3 separate regions of the Homo sapiens genome follow, and regions 1 and 2 are each linked to region 3. Evidence: promoter capture Hi-C in human tissues and cell types (Jung and others, 2019). All regions are on one chromosome and are shown on one strand. Each heading gives the region's core, a stretch centred on a gene start or on the middle of the fragment in contact. The rest is flanking DNA. Distances are from core to core; before and after follow the strand shown.

What was found. The method cuts DNA at HindIII sites, captures the fragments that hold promoters and counts their contacts. A contact is called where the count stands out against the background at its distance.
Region 1: a contact is called between a fragment that was not itself captured here and the fragment with the promoter of PBX3 in region 3, in 1 of the 25 tissues and cell types used here (mesendoderm cells).
Region 2: a fragment that was not itself captured here is called in contact with the fragment with the promoter of PBX3 in region 3 in 1 of the 25 tissues and cell types used here (lymphoblastoid cells).

Annotation. Positions count from the first base shown.
Region 1 is chr9:125,449,825-125,453,842 of GRCh38, reverse strand. All of the region lies in intron 10 of MAPKAP1 (MAPK associated protein 1), which reads left to right. Among named protein-coding and RNA genes, the nearest start is that of GAPVD1, 190 kb to the right of the region's middle. The HindIII fragment of the contact is 3,861 bases long and covers 368-4,018 here.
Region 2 is chr9:126,177,794-126,181,580 of GRCh38, reverse strand. No RefSeq gene overlaps it. Among named protein-coding and RNA genes, the nearest start is that of MVB12B, 150 kb to the left of the region's middle. The HindIII fragment of the contact is 3,220 bases long and covers 65-3,284 here.
Region 3 is chr9:125,744,965-125,748,876 of GRCh38, reverse strand. It overlaps PBX3 (PBX homeobox 3), which reads right to left and starts at 1,504. Exons shown (of 9, transcript NM_006195.6): 1 at 1,224-1,504; 2 at 254-327. The coding sequence starts at 1,423. PBX3-DT (PBX3 divergent transcript) reads left to right here and starts at 2,948. Exons shown (of 2, transcript NR_122032.1): 1 at 2,948-3,461. RefSeq lists silencers at 530-869, 1,140-1,669, 1,680-1,729, 1,980-2,409. The HindIII fragment of the contact is 5,465 bases long and covers 1-3,912 here.

The DNA.
Region 1 (4,018 bases), core at 1,049-3,548, 300 kb after region 3:
TAAAGACTTTTCCAATATCAGTAGTGATATTAATGAAAGTGATTTTTTTTCGATATTGTCAAATGAAATATGTCAACATTTGGAAAATCTGCATAACTCAGTGAACCAATATTTTCCAGACTACTGCATGATGTTACAAAAGCAGGCAAGGGGAAAGATTCAAAATGTAAAACAGACCAATAGATTTTAATGTAACAGAATACAAAAAAGTTTATTAATGAGGTTTATATTCCACATTGCAACTAATCTTTAAGAAAATACCATTTATCAAGTTCAGTGTAGTATCAAAGAGGAATATTTACAAAGAAGAACATTAAAATATGCCTCACTTTTCCAAAAACATATCTGCGGGAGTCTGGCTTTTCTTCATTTACTTTAACCAAAACTATATCACAGCAGATCAAATGCAGAATCAGATTGGATAATCCAGCTGTTTTCTGTTCAACCAAATGTTAAAGAGATTTCAAAACATAAAATAGGCTGGTACGGAGGCTCACGCCTGTAATCCCAACACTTTGAGAGGCCGAGGCAGATAGATCATCTGAGGTCAGGAGTACGAGACCAGCCTTGCCAGCATGGCGAAACTCCATCTCTATTGTCTCTACTAAAAATACAAAAATTAGCCAGGCCTGGTGTTGCACCCCTGTAGCCCAGCTACTCAGAAGGCTGAGGCAGGAGAATTGCTTGAACCCAGGAGGTGGAGGTTGCAGTGAGTCAAGATCATGCCACTGCACTCTAGCCTGGGCAACAGAGTGAGACTCTGTCTCAGAAAAATAAATAAATAAATAAATAATGCCACTCTTATTTAACTTTGGGGAGATATAAGGGTTTTTCCATTTTAAAATATGTTAATTTGTAATGGGTGTATTATTTTAGTGAGTTAATATATATTTTTTAATTTCTCAGTTTTAATTTCATTTATTTTCTTTTTTTGTTTGTTTGTTTGTTTTTGAGACAGAGTCCCGCTGTGTTACCCACGCTGGAGTACAGTGGCCAGTGACATGATTCCGCCTTACTGCAACCTCCACTTCCCAGGTTCAAAATTCTCGTGCCTCAGCCTCCCAGCCCAGCCTCAGGCACACACCACCACACCCGGCTAGTTTTTGTATTTTTAGTAGAGACAGGGTTTCTCCATGTTGGCCAGGCTGGTCTCAAACTCCTGGCCTCCCAAAGTGCTGGGATTACAGGCGTGAGCCACCACACCTGGCCGAATTTCTAACACAATAAATGTTGATAGGTATAATCCACATAAGCTTTTTGGACTCCTCAATAGTGTTTAAGAGTATTAAGGGCTTCTGAGACCAAAAAGTTTGAGAACTGCTGATCTGGGGTCTTGAAAATCATCTTATGAAGCTTGGACTTTATTCTGAGGATGACAGGAAAAGAAGCACTGCAGAGTTTTAAGTAGGGGGTCCAGATGGTATGTTTTAAAAGAATGACTCCTGGCCAGGCGTAGTGGCTCACGCCTGTCATCCCAGCACTTTGAGAGGCCGAGGTATGCAGATCACTTGAGGCCAGGAGTTCGAGACTAGCCTAGCCAACATGGCAAAACCCCATCTCCACAAAAATTTCAAAAATTAGCTCGGCGTGGTGGCGCACGCCTGTAATCCCAGCTACTTGGGAGGCTGAGGTGGGAGGATCACTCAAACTCAGGAGACAGAGATTGCAGTGAGCCCAGATCGCAGCACTGCACTCCAGCTGAGTGACAGAGGAAGACTCTGTCTCAAAAAAACGGGCTGGTGCGGTGGCTCATGCCTGTAATCCCAGCACTTCAGGAGGCCAAGGCGGGCAGATCACCCAAGGTCAGGAGTTCAAGACCAGCCTGACCAACATGGCGAAACCCCGTCTCTACTAAAAATACAAAAATTAGCCTGGCGTGGTGGCAGGCGCCTGTAATCCCAGCTACTCTGGAGGCTGAGGCAGGAGAATGGCTTGAACTTGGGAGGCGGAGGTTGCAGTGAGCTGAGATCGCGCCACTGCGCTCCACCCTGGGGGATAGAGCGAGACTCTGCCTCAAAAAAAAAAAAAAAAAAACTCCTGTGAGTAGATGTTTGAATCTGCAGAAGACATGATCAAAAGAAGGAAAACCAGAGAAAAAGCAATAGATGATCAGGACCTGGGTGAGGGCTGTGGTCCCAGGATAGAGAGGGACGGAAGATAAACGTGAAAACTAGGAGACCAAATGCCCAGTACTTGGTGCGTGGTGAAGCCTCCAGTTGTGCCACCACAACTGCCAATTTAAGGGGAGATGCTGATGTCTGTTCTGGACATGCTGCACTGGGGGCCATGTGGAGGTGGCAGCCATACCCACTGCTCAGCTCTGAAACTCTGGAGAAAGGTATAGGCCACATAGCTGCTTCAGGATCACCAACATGTGAGTAGTAACTAAAACCCAAGGGCAAACCCGACACAGGAAAAACGTAGTTAGAGGAGGTGCTGATCAAGGATAGAACTCAGGAAGACCATTGCTTAAGGGACAGGTGGAGGTCCAGAAGATCACAAAGGAAATGTGAGAAACAGATGACTGGAGACGTGGACCCAAGAATCAGGTGACCGTGCCTCCAGGGAAGCCAGGACTTTAAGAAGTGTCGAAAACAGCTGAGAAATCTCTACTGGATCTCTCGACATTGAGGGCATAGTGACCTTAGCAAGAATGTTTTCGATACATGAGAGGAAGGAGGGAAATCACATTGCCATGGGAGTTTTTATAATTAGAGATTTAATTATGTTTACAGGAAGGAGCCAAAGAGAGAGAGAGAGGGAGTTTGAGAATCCAGGCAGAAATGTAAGTAGGTCAGGCACATCCCCGGCTCTAGAGGTCAAAGAGGTCATTACTATGGTTGCCCAGGCCGCTGCCCACGCAGGAGTGCTTGGGAAGGAGCACTCCCTTTTGCCAGTTGAATTACCTTGAGCTGAAGCTCCCTGCAGGCAGCCCAGAACTGTTGCTTACGGTGGAGAGGAGACCCAACCAGGAGGGAGTTTTCAGCCCAGAGACCAAAGAACCCCAGTCCAGCATTTCCTACTAGGACCTACAGAAAGATACAGCTTTGCCTAAAACAATGTGTGTTCCCATCGGTTTCCCCCAAGAAATCCAGTGAGAATGTTCCCCTCTCAGGCCAGAGGGCCCAGAAGACATCAGACCTTGGAAACTGAGTTTTCAAAAAGTATCCATGCCTGATGTAAAGGAATTGAGAAAGAATCCCAAGCCTCAAAGCTGTTCTTTGTAGCCTTATTTATAGTACTGGCAATTTTATAAGTAACCCAGAAGCCCAACAGAGATAGCAACATGACCCATAGCTCACGTCTACTGGTTGGAATAAGATGCAGCCATTGAAAACGGTGGTTATAGAAATTGTTGCAACAGGGAAAGGGGTATGGTAAAATGTTAACTTAAAAAAACTAAGCTCAACTTCTAGTATACAATCTGATTACAACTGTGAAAACAGGCGAGAATGGTTAGGAAAGAGACCGTGAATGGCATTGTGCTAGTGTTGGGATTTTGGGGTGGGGTGTGGAGGTTCTCCTCTGTCTTCTAAATTTCTAGTATTTTTAATAAGGAAAAGAAACAGGTTTATTTTTATATTTTTGGCAAGTGGTGACACCTGGGGGTTTAGGCAAAGGTGGGCTGCAGGCTCATTCTGGCAGCTCCAGCTCTGACCAGTCATGGCCAGCCACAGTCAGTACTGGCAGGTTGTGTTAGAAGAGACCCTCCCTTGAGACTTTTCTTAAGGCAGATGGAAAGTAAAAAAAATGATAGCCGGGCATGGTGGGGGGTACCTGTAATACCAGCTACTCAGGAGGCTGAGGCAGGAGAATCGCTTGAACCCAGCAGGCAGAGGTTGCAGTGAGCCGAGATGTCACCACTGCACTCCAGCCTGGGTGACAGAGTGAGACTCCATCTCAAAAAAAAAAGAGCAAAAATTGAAAATCAAAAAAAGACCCTTCTTTCAGTTGATTTGCAGTGGAAGTCTGGGAGCACCTCTTTTAGCAGGGTTGTGAGTGCTGTTCATGTATGTTT
Region 2 (3,787 bases), core at 425-2,924, 430 kb before region 3:
AAATAATGTCTCTCCAAACTGAAAATACCAATAAAAAGACAGGAATTTAAAAAAGGCACCAAACAGAAATTCTGGAGTTAAAAAGTACAATAACTGTAATAAAAAATTAAATAGAGGGATCATACCATTTTCGAACAGGCAGAAGGAAGAATCATCAAATTTGAAGATAGGTCCATTGAAGTTATTCAGTCTGAGGAACTGAAAGAAAAAATAATGAAGATAAATGAACAGAACCCAAGAGATCTGTGGGACACCATCAGACATATCAACATATGCATAATAGGAATCCTAGAAGAGGAGAGAGAAAGGGGAATAAAGGACCTTTGAAGAAATAATGGTAATACACTTCCCAAATTTGATGAAAAACATGAATTTACACATTTAAGAAAATCAAAATATCCAAGTAGATAAACTTAAAGAGATCCACACAGACTGTCCAAACGAACTGTTCAAGCCAAAGACAGAGAGAGAATCCTGAAAGCGGCAAGAGAGAAGTGACTAGTCACATACAAGGGACCCTCAATAATATTAATAGCCAGTTTCTCATCGGAAACCATGGAGGTTAGAAAGAAATAGGATGCAATATTTAAAGTTCTGAGAGAAAAAAACTCTTAATCAAAAATTCTGTATTCAGCAAAATTATACTGCAAAAATGAAGGAGAAATCAAGACATCCCAAGATTTAAAACAAACAAACAAACGAACAAACAAACAAAAAAGCTGAGAGAGTTCATTGCTGGTAGACCTACCCTACAAGAAATATTAACAGGAGTCCTTTAAGCTGAAATGAAAGGACACTAGACAGTAACCCAAAGCTATACAAAGAAATTAAGAAAACTGGTAAAGACATAGATTTACATAGGTAAATATAAAAGCCAGTACCATTGTTTTTTTCTCTGTAACTTCATTTTTCTATAAGATTTAGAAGACAAATGCATTAAATAATAATTATAAATGATTTGTTATGGCCATTATAAATCTTTGTTGATGGGCAAACATTGAAGAAAGATATAATTCATGACAACTACAACATAAAGCAAGGAGATGAAGCTATATTGGAGCAAAGTTTTTACATAATATTGAGAGAAAGTTGATATTAATCCAAGCCAGATTGTTATAAATTACCATGTCAATTATAACGCCCAGGACGAACACTTAGAAAATAATTCAAAAATATACATTAAAAGAAATGACAAGGGAATTAAAATGGTACTTTAGAACATCTCTATCCAACATAAAATAAAGCTGTAATGGCACAAAATGACAGAAGCAAGTGATTCCTTATCAGTAATTACATGAAATGTAAATGGATTAAACCCTCCAATTGAACAGCACAATGGCTGAAAAAAATGACCCAATTATGTGTCATGTATAGGAGATTCACTTTAGATTAAAAGATACAAATATATTGAAAGTAGAAGGATGCAAAAAGATATTCTATACAAAAAGTAACCAGAGCTGGAGTGACTATACTAATATGAGACAAAATAGACTTTGAGACAAAAATTCTTACAACACAAAGAAGGACGTTATACAATGATAAAAGGTCCAATCCATCAAAAAGGTATTGCAATTATAAACATATATGCATCTAACAACAGAGCCCCAAAATACATAAAGCAAATCAGTATCTGCTTCAGAACTGAAGGGAGAAAATAGATAGTTCACTAGTGGCAGCTGGAAACTTCAATATTTCACTGCCAATAATGTATGCAACAACTAGACAGAAGTTCAGCAAGCAAATAGGGGACCTGAACAACATTATAAGCCAACTAGGTTTAACAGACATCCATGGAACACTCCATCCAACAATAGCAGAATACACATTCTTATCAAGTACCCATGGAACATTCTCCAGGATAAACCATGTTAGGCCACAAAACAAGTTTTAATATATTTAAAATATATAAATCATACAAAGTATCTTCTTTAACCACATGGAATGAAATTACTAACCAATAATAGAATGAAATTTGGAAAATTCACAAATATGTAGAAATTAAACTACATAGTCCTAAATAAACAAGGGGCCAAAGAAGTAATCACAAGCAAAATCAGAAAACACTTTGAAATAAATGAGAATAAACATACAACATACCAAAGTTTAGGGGATGCAGTAAAAGTAATACTCAGAGGTACATTTATAGCTGCAAACACCTACATTTAAAAAGAAGAAAGACATGAAATTAATAAAATAAGCTTATGCTTTAAGAAAAGAAAAAGAAGAGCAAATTAAGCCAAAGCAAGCAGAATGAGAAAAATATTACAGCAGAGGTAAATAAAATAGAGAATAGAAAAACAATAGAGAAAATCAGAAGTTAGTCCTTTGAACAGATCAACAAAATTGGCAAATTCTTAGCTAGATTAGTCAAGAAAAAAAGAGAGAAGACTCCAGTTATTAAAACCAGGAATGAAGTGGGATATCATTACTGACCTTGTAGAAATAAAAAGGATTATAAGAGAATACTATGAACAGCTGTATGCCAACAAATTGGATAATCTAGATGAAACAGACAAATACCTAAAAACACAGAAACTATCAAAATTAACTGAATATGAACTAGAAACCTAAGCAAACCTATGAGAATAAAAGAGATTAAATCAGTAACCAGAAGACTTCTAACAAAGTCCAGGACCAGATGATGGCTTCCCTAATGAATTCTACCAAATGTTTAAAGAGGAATTAACACCAATATTTCTCAAACTTTTCCAAAAAACAGAAAAGAAGCAAACACTTTATAGCTTATCACATGAGATCACTATTACCCTGATCCTAAAGCTAGACAAAGACAACACAAGAAAACCACAGACCAATATCCTTTATGAATATAGATATAAAAATCCTTAATAAAATATTAGCAAATTGAATCCAGCAGCATATTACAAGGATTGTACATCATAACACCAAGTGAGGTTTATCCCTGTAATGCAAGGGTGGTTCAACATGCAAAAATTAATCAACATAATACACCACATTAGCAAGAATGAAAGACCCTATATGATCATCTCAATAGATTAAAAAAAAATTTAGTGAAATCCAACACCCTTGCATGATAAAAGCACTCAACAACCTAGGAACAGAAGAAAAATTTCTCAACCTGATAAACAGCATTTATGAAAATCACACAACTAACAGCATGCTTAATGGAGAAAAACTGAAACTGCTCTCTCTAAGATCAGGAACAAGAAAGGATGTCCACTCTCACTACTTCTATTCAGCATTGTAGTGGAGGTTCTAGCCAGGGCAATTAGTCAAGAAAGAGAAGTAAAAGGCATCCAGATTAGAAGGAAGAAGTAAAACTATCCTATTTGTAAATGGCAGGTTCTTATATGTAAAACACCCTAAATAATTCTCAAACAAACCAAAAAACTTAAACCAAAACTTAGAACTTAACCAAAAAACTTAAAAAAACAAAAAAACTTAACCAAAACTTAGAACTATAAGCAAATTCTGCAAAGGTGCAGGATACATGATAAATATATACAAACTTATTGTATTTCTATGCACTAGTAATGAATAATGCGAAAAAAATGAAATTAACAAAACAATTGTATTTGTAGTAGCATCAAAAATAATAAAATACTTAGGAATAAATTAAATCAAGAAAGTGAAGGACTTGTACACTGAAAACTACAAAACACAGCTGAAAAACTGAAGACAATCTTAATAAATGGAAAGATCTCACATTTATGGATCAGAAGACTTAATATTGTTAAGATGACAATGCTCTCAAAAATGATCTACAATTTCAATGCAATCTCTAACAAAATCCCAGCTACCTTATTTT
Region 3 (3,912 bases), core at 255-2,754:
CAGCCAGGGGCGGCCGCCGAGGGACGGCGATCCAGCCCGGTCCGCACCTACACTTCATTTTACACCAGGAGCAGAACTGAGAAATTGACTCCAGATTTATTGCAGTTTTTTCTCAAGATCAGGACGTGGGAAGGAGAGAATGATCAAAGATGGCGGTGCCCAAAAGCAGCAGCTCTCAACTGGAGAGTCGAAGGAGTAGCTCCGACCCCCACCTCGGGGGTCTCCAGGCCCACTGCGGGGCGCAGCGTCTTACCTGTTTTCTCTTTGATCTCACACAGGACGCTGAAGAGCGCTGGTTTCATTCTGTGACAGTTCAGGGCATGTTTCCTAAAAAACAAATAACGAAACACAAAGGTATTAGCATCACCTATGGAATAATATGGCGCCTTCCTTTAAGTTAGACCCAAGATTTAATTCCAGCCCCCCATTCTGGAAGGCCCTTTTGAACCGTGGGAAGTCAACAAAAACTCCAGTTGACTAGTTCCCGACAGCCAGCAAGCCCCGGCGGCGAAAGCTGCAGCCGGAACAAGGCGGACCCATCTGCCCGGCAGGCAGCAGCCTCGGCCACTGCAGACGCGACGCGAACCCGCGCGGGGAGCCTCGCCCCGGGGGCAGGCGAAGGCGACCCGGGGGAGGGGACGGGTGCGGAGGGGCTCCCGCGTCCGCTCCTGTGCAGAGGAGGCCGGCCGACTGCGGCCAGCGGGAGGGTGACAGCTCGGCAAAGTTTGCAAGGCGGCCCTCCCTCTCCGAGAACTTGGCCGTCCGCACCCGGACCCGCCAGGGAACCGCCCATCGCCCCGCGCCGGGCCCGGGTGGCCGCCCGCATCGCGAGGTCGTCCCGCGGCCGCGGGAGCCGGCGCCGGGACTCCCCGCCGGAGGAGAAAGTTACACTTCCCGGCGGCGCGGCCCGCACGGGGTCGGGGCGGGAGGTTTAAATCCCTGGGAGGGGGCCGGGCTGCGAGGGGCAGGACGGGGGAAAGGACGCCACGGAATCCGCGCCGCACCGAGTCCGTCCCGAGCCCCCCAGAGCAACTTTGCCGACTCCCGCCCGCTTCGGGGGGCGCGGGCAAGTCCCCCCGAGGCCGGGGCGGGCGGCCGGCTTTCGGAGAAAGTTCCCCGCCGGGGGCTGCGGCCCTAGCCCCGGGCGCCACCCCGGGCCTCGACTCGGCCGCGGGCCCGGCTCCCGCACACACACAAAAGATGCTTAATGAGACGACACCAACTTTGCTTGCGCCTCGTCCAAGCTCTGGTCGGTGATGGTCATGATCTGGTGGAGGATGTCGCCGATGTCCTGCTTCCTGCCGTCGCCGTCCGCCCCTTCGTGGCCGTGCGGGGGAGGCGGCAGGGCCATGCCCCCCTGCACCGAGTGGCCAGCCAGGTTCACCCCGGCCAGAGTCTGCAGCATCCTGGATTGATCGTCCATCCCGCCGCGCGCGGGCGGGAGCGGGCGGCGGCTGAGGCGAAGGCTGAGGCGGCGGCGGCGGCGGCGGCGACGAGGGAGGAGAAGAAAGAGGGGGAGGGGGAGGGGGAGGCGGCCGCGCGCTCCCCGCCCGCGCGGGGAGGGGGCGGCCCGGCCGGCAGGGCCCGCGGCTGAGGCGATGAGGACGGGCGCCCGGCTCCGGCTTCCGCCGCCGCCGAGGCTGAGGAGAAGCGGCGGGCGGAAGCGCCGGGCTCCGCGGCGGTGGCGGAGGCGGAGGCGGCGGCGCCCGCTGCCCTCACGCGGCCGCCGCGCCGCCTCCTCGCCGCCGCGCGCCCCGCCGGGCGGCCCCGCGCAACTTGCTCCTCAGCGCCCGCCGAGTTGCCGGGACGCCCGCCGCCCCCCGCGCCAGCCTGCGCACTGCCCTCCTCGGCCGCCGCCGCCGCCTCGGCCAGGCGGGATCCGAGCCCCGGCGGCCCCGGGGGAGGCAGCGGCGGCGGCGGCGGGCGGCGGCGGAGGAGGAGGCCTGCGGGCGGGCCGCGGGGAGCGAGGGGGGGCGGAGGAGGAAAGTTTGGGAGCGGGCGGGCAGAGGCGGCGGGGGCGCTGAGCCCGGAGGAGGGCCCCGGCGGGCCGCGCGCCGGGCGGACAGCCGATGGATAGGGCGGGAGAAGTCGCCGCCGCCGCCGCCGGAGCCGCGCACCCAGCCAGCAGCCGCCGCGGACCGGGCTGGAAGGCCGCTGGGCCGAGGGATTGACAGGCTGCCAGTGCCACTCACTCACTGCGGCCCCGCGCCGGGGGGAGGGACGGGGGCTGGCAAGGGCGGGGGAGCGCTCCTCAGACCCCGCCCCCGGGGCGGTGCGCGCGCTCATTGGGCTCTGCGCCTCCCGCCGCCGCCGCCGGCACCGCCCCCGGGGCCCGGCCCGTTCCCTCTGGCCTCTGATACTCCGCGCTCCGGAGTGTGCCGCCGGATCCTCGCTCCAACCTCGTCGCGTCCTAGCCCCCCGGGATAGACCGGGCCGGCCCACAAACGGTGTGCCCGCACCCCGACTCCTGCTCCATGCTTTTGGCAGTCATGGGAGCGGGGGGTTGTGTATGGGACAGTGGGCAACTCGCTGCAAAGCCAACCGTGTGCTCCCCCGCCGCGCCCGTGAGCTTCACGCCTCGGACAGCTCCTGGTGCACTTTCCCGCTCTTCCTGTCAGGAGGTGGTGCCCTCTGGGTACCAGGCCGCTCGTCCCGGGCCAATCGCAAAGCGCTTAGAGCCGAATGGGGCGGGACAGAGGCAAGAAAGGGTCGTCCCAATTGGAGCGTTCGAAAGGTTCTGGGCAGAGGCGGGGAAGCGGCGAGTGGGGGCCTCGCCCCGCCTGCGGTCGCCATGGTAACCGAGAGGGCGCAGCTCAGCGTTGGCGCCAGCACCGGGGTCTTGTGCTGTCCCTCAATGGGTGACCAGTTAAGGTGGGAACCTGTGGTCTCACATACTTGAAGTCTGAGCTGAGTGGACCTGACTGCCATAGACTTTCCATTGAAAGGGGAAATGTGTCAGAGAGAAGCGAGTCTGGGAGGAGGGAAAGTGCCTTCAGTCCAGGACTAATTTCAAGGTTTACAACACTTTACACACTCTGCAACTCCTGATAATCCAGGGACTACTCCTTTGGCAGCGTTTGCTATTCGATGCCTCCAGATGTACTGAAGCTGCAAAAACGAGCTCTTCATTACAAAGATACGTTTGTTTAGGAAGAGACTGGATTTCACTTGTCAACTTACCCCATCACCACGAGTCATTTAATGTTGGTAACGCCAGCCACGATTTTTCGTATCTATAACACCCCTTCTTCCATTGAATTCTACCTACAAATAACTGAAGGCTCACATTATTTTGGAATATGGACCTCCGCCTCTTGTGGAGACTTGAGATTGCTCTTAAGCTGATTTCCCAAACAGGGGCTGCAATGTGTGTTCCCGATTTTAGATTCATTGAGCTCACCCTAGATGAGTCCTTTGGTTCGGTGGTTCGGAAAAGTCTCTTTGTTCCTTCTCCAAACTCAGTAAGCTGTCTTACCTGAAACCAAAAATAGGGGTATGAGGATATGAAAAATGGCTCTTACTCTGCAGGGTTTAATGTAGGACAAGCAGTTCTTTAAATGCCAGATGGATTCTTGGAATGAAGCAGGCTACTCGGTTCCAGGTTCTTTCCTTCATATGTTGTGTGTACTTTTAAATACTCCCCACTGCAAAGCTAATAGCTAAGCTTACAGTTAGGCAAGCTAAAATCCTTACAAACTGCACAGCTGCTGAGGAGGGAGTTCCAAAAAATCCACTCTGCTTACTTACCTCCAAAGAAGAACCCCCTTCATGTTCATTAATATTCTCTGCTCTTCTATACCCCATTGATATGTCAAGTTTCCAATTCTTCTTTGAAGCCCCCATTATGGGTTACTTATAATCGTCATTGATTGGGTTTTTTCTTTATTCTTAATTTGTTTTTTAAAGCTGTCA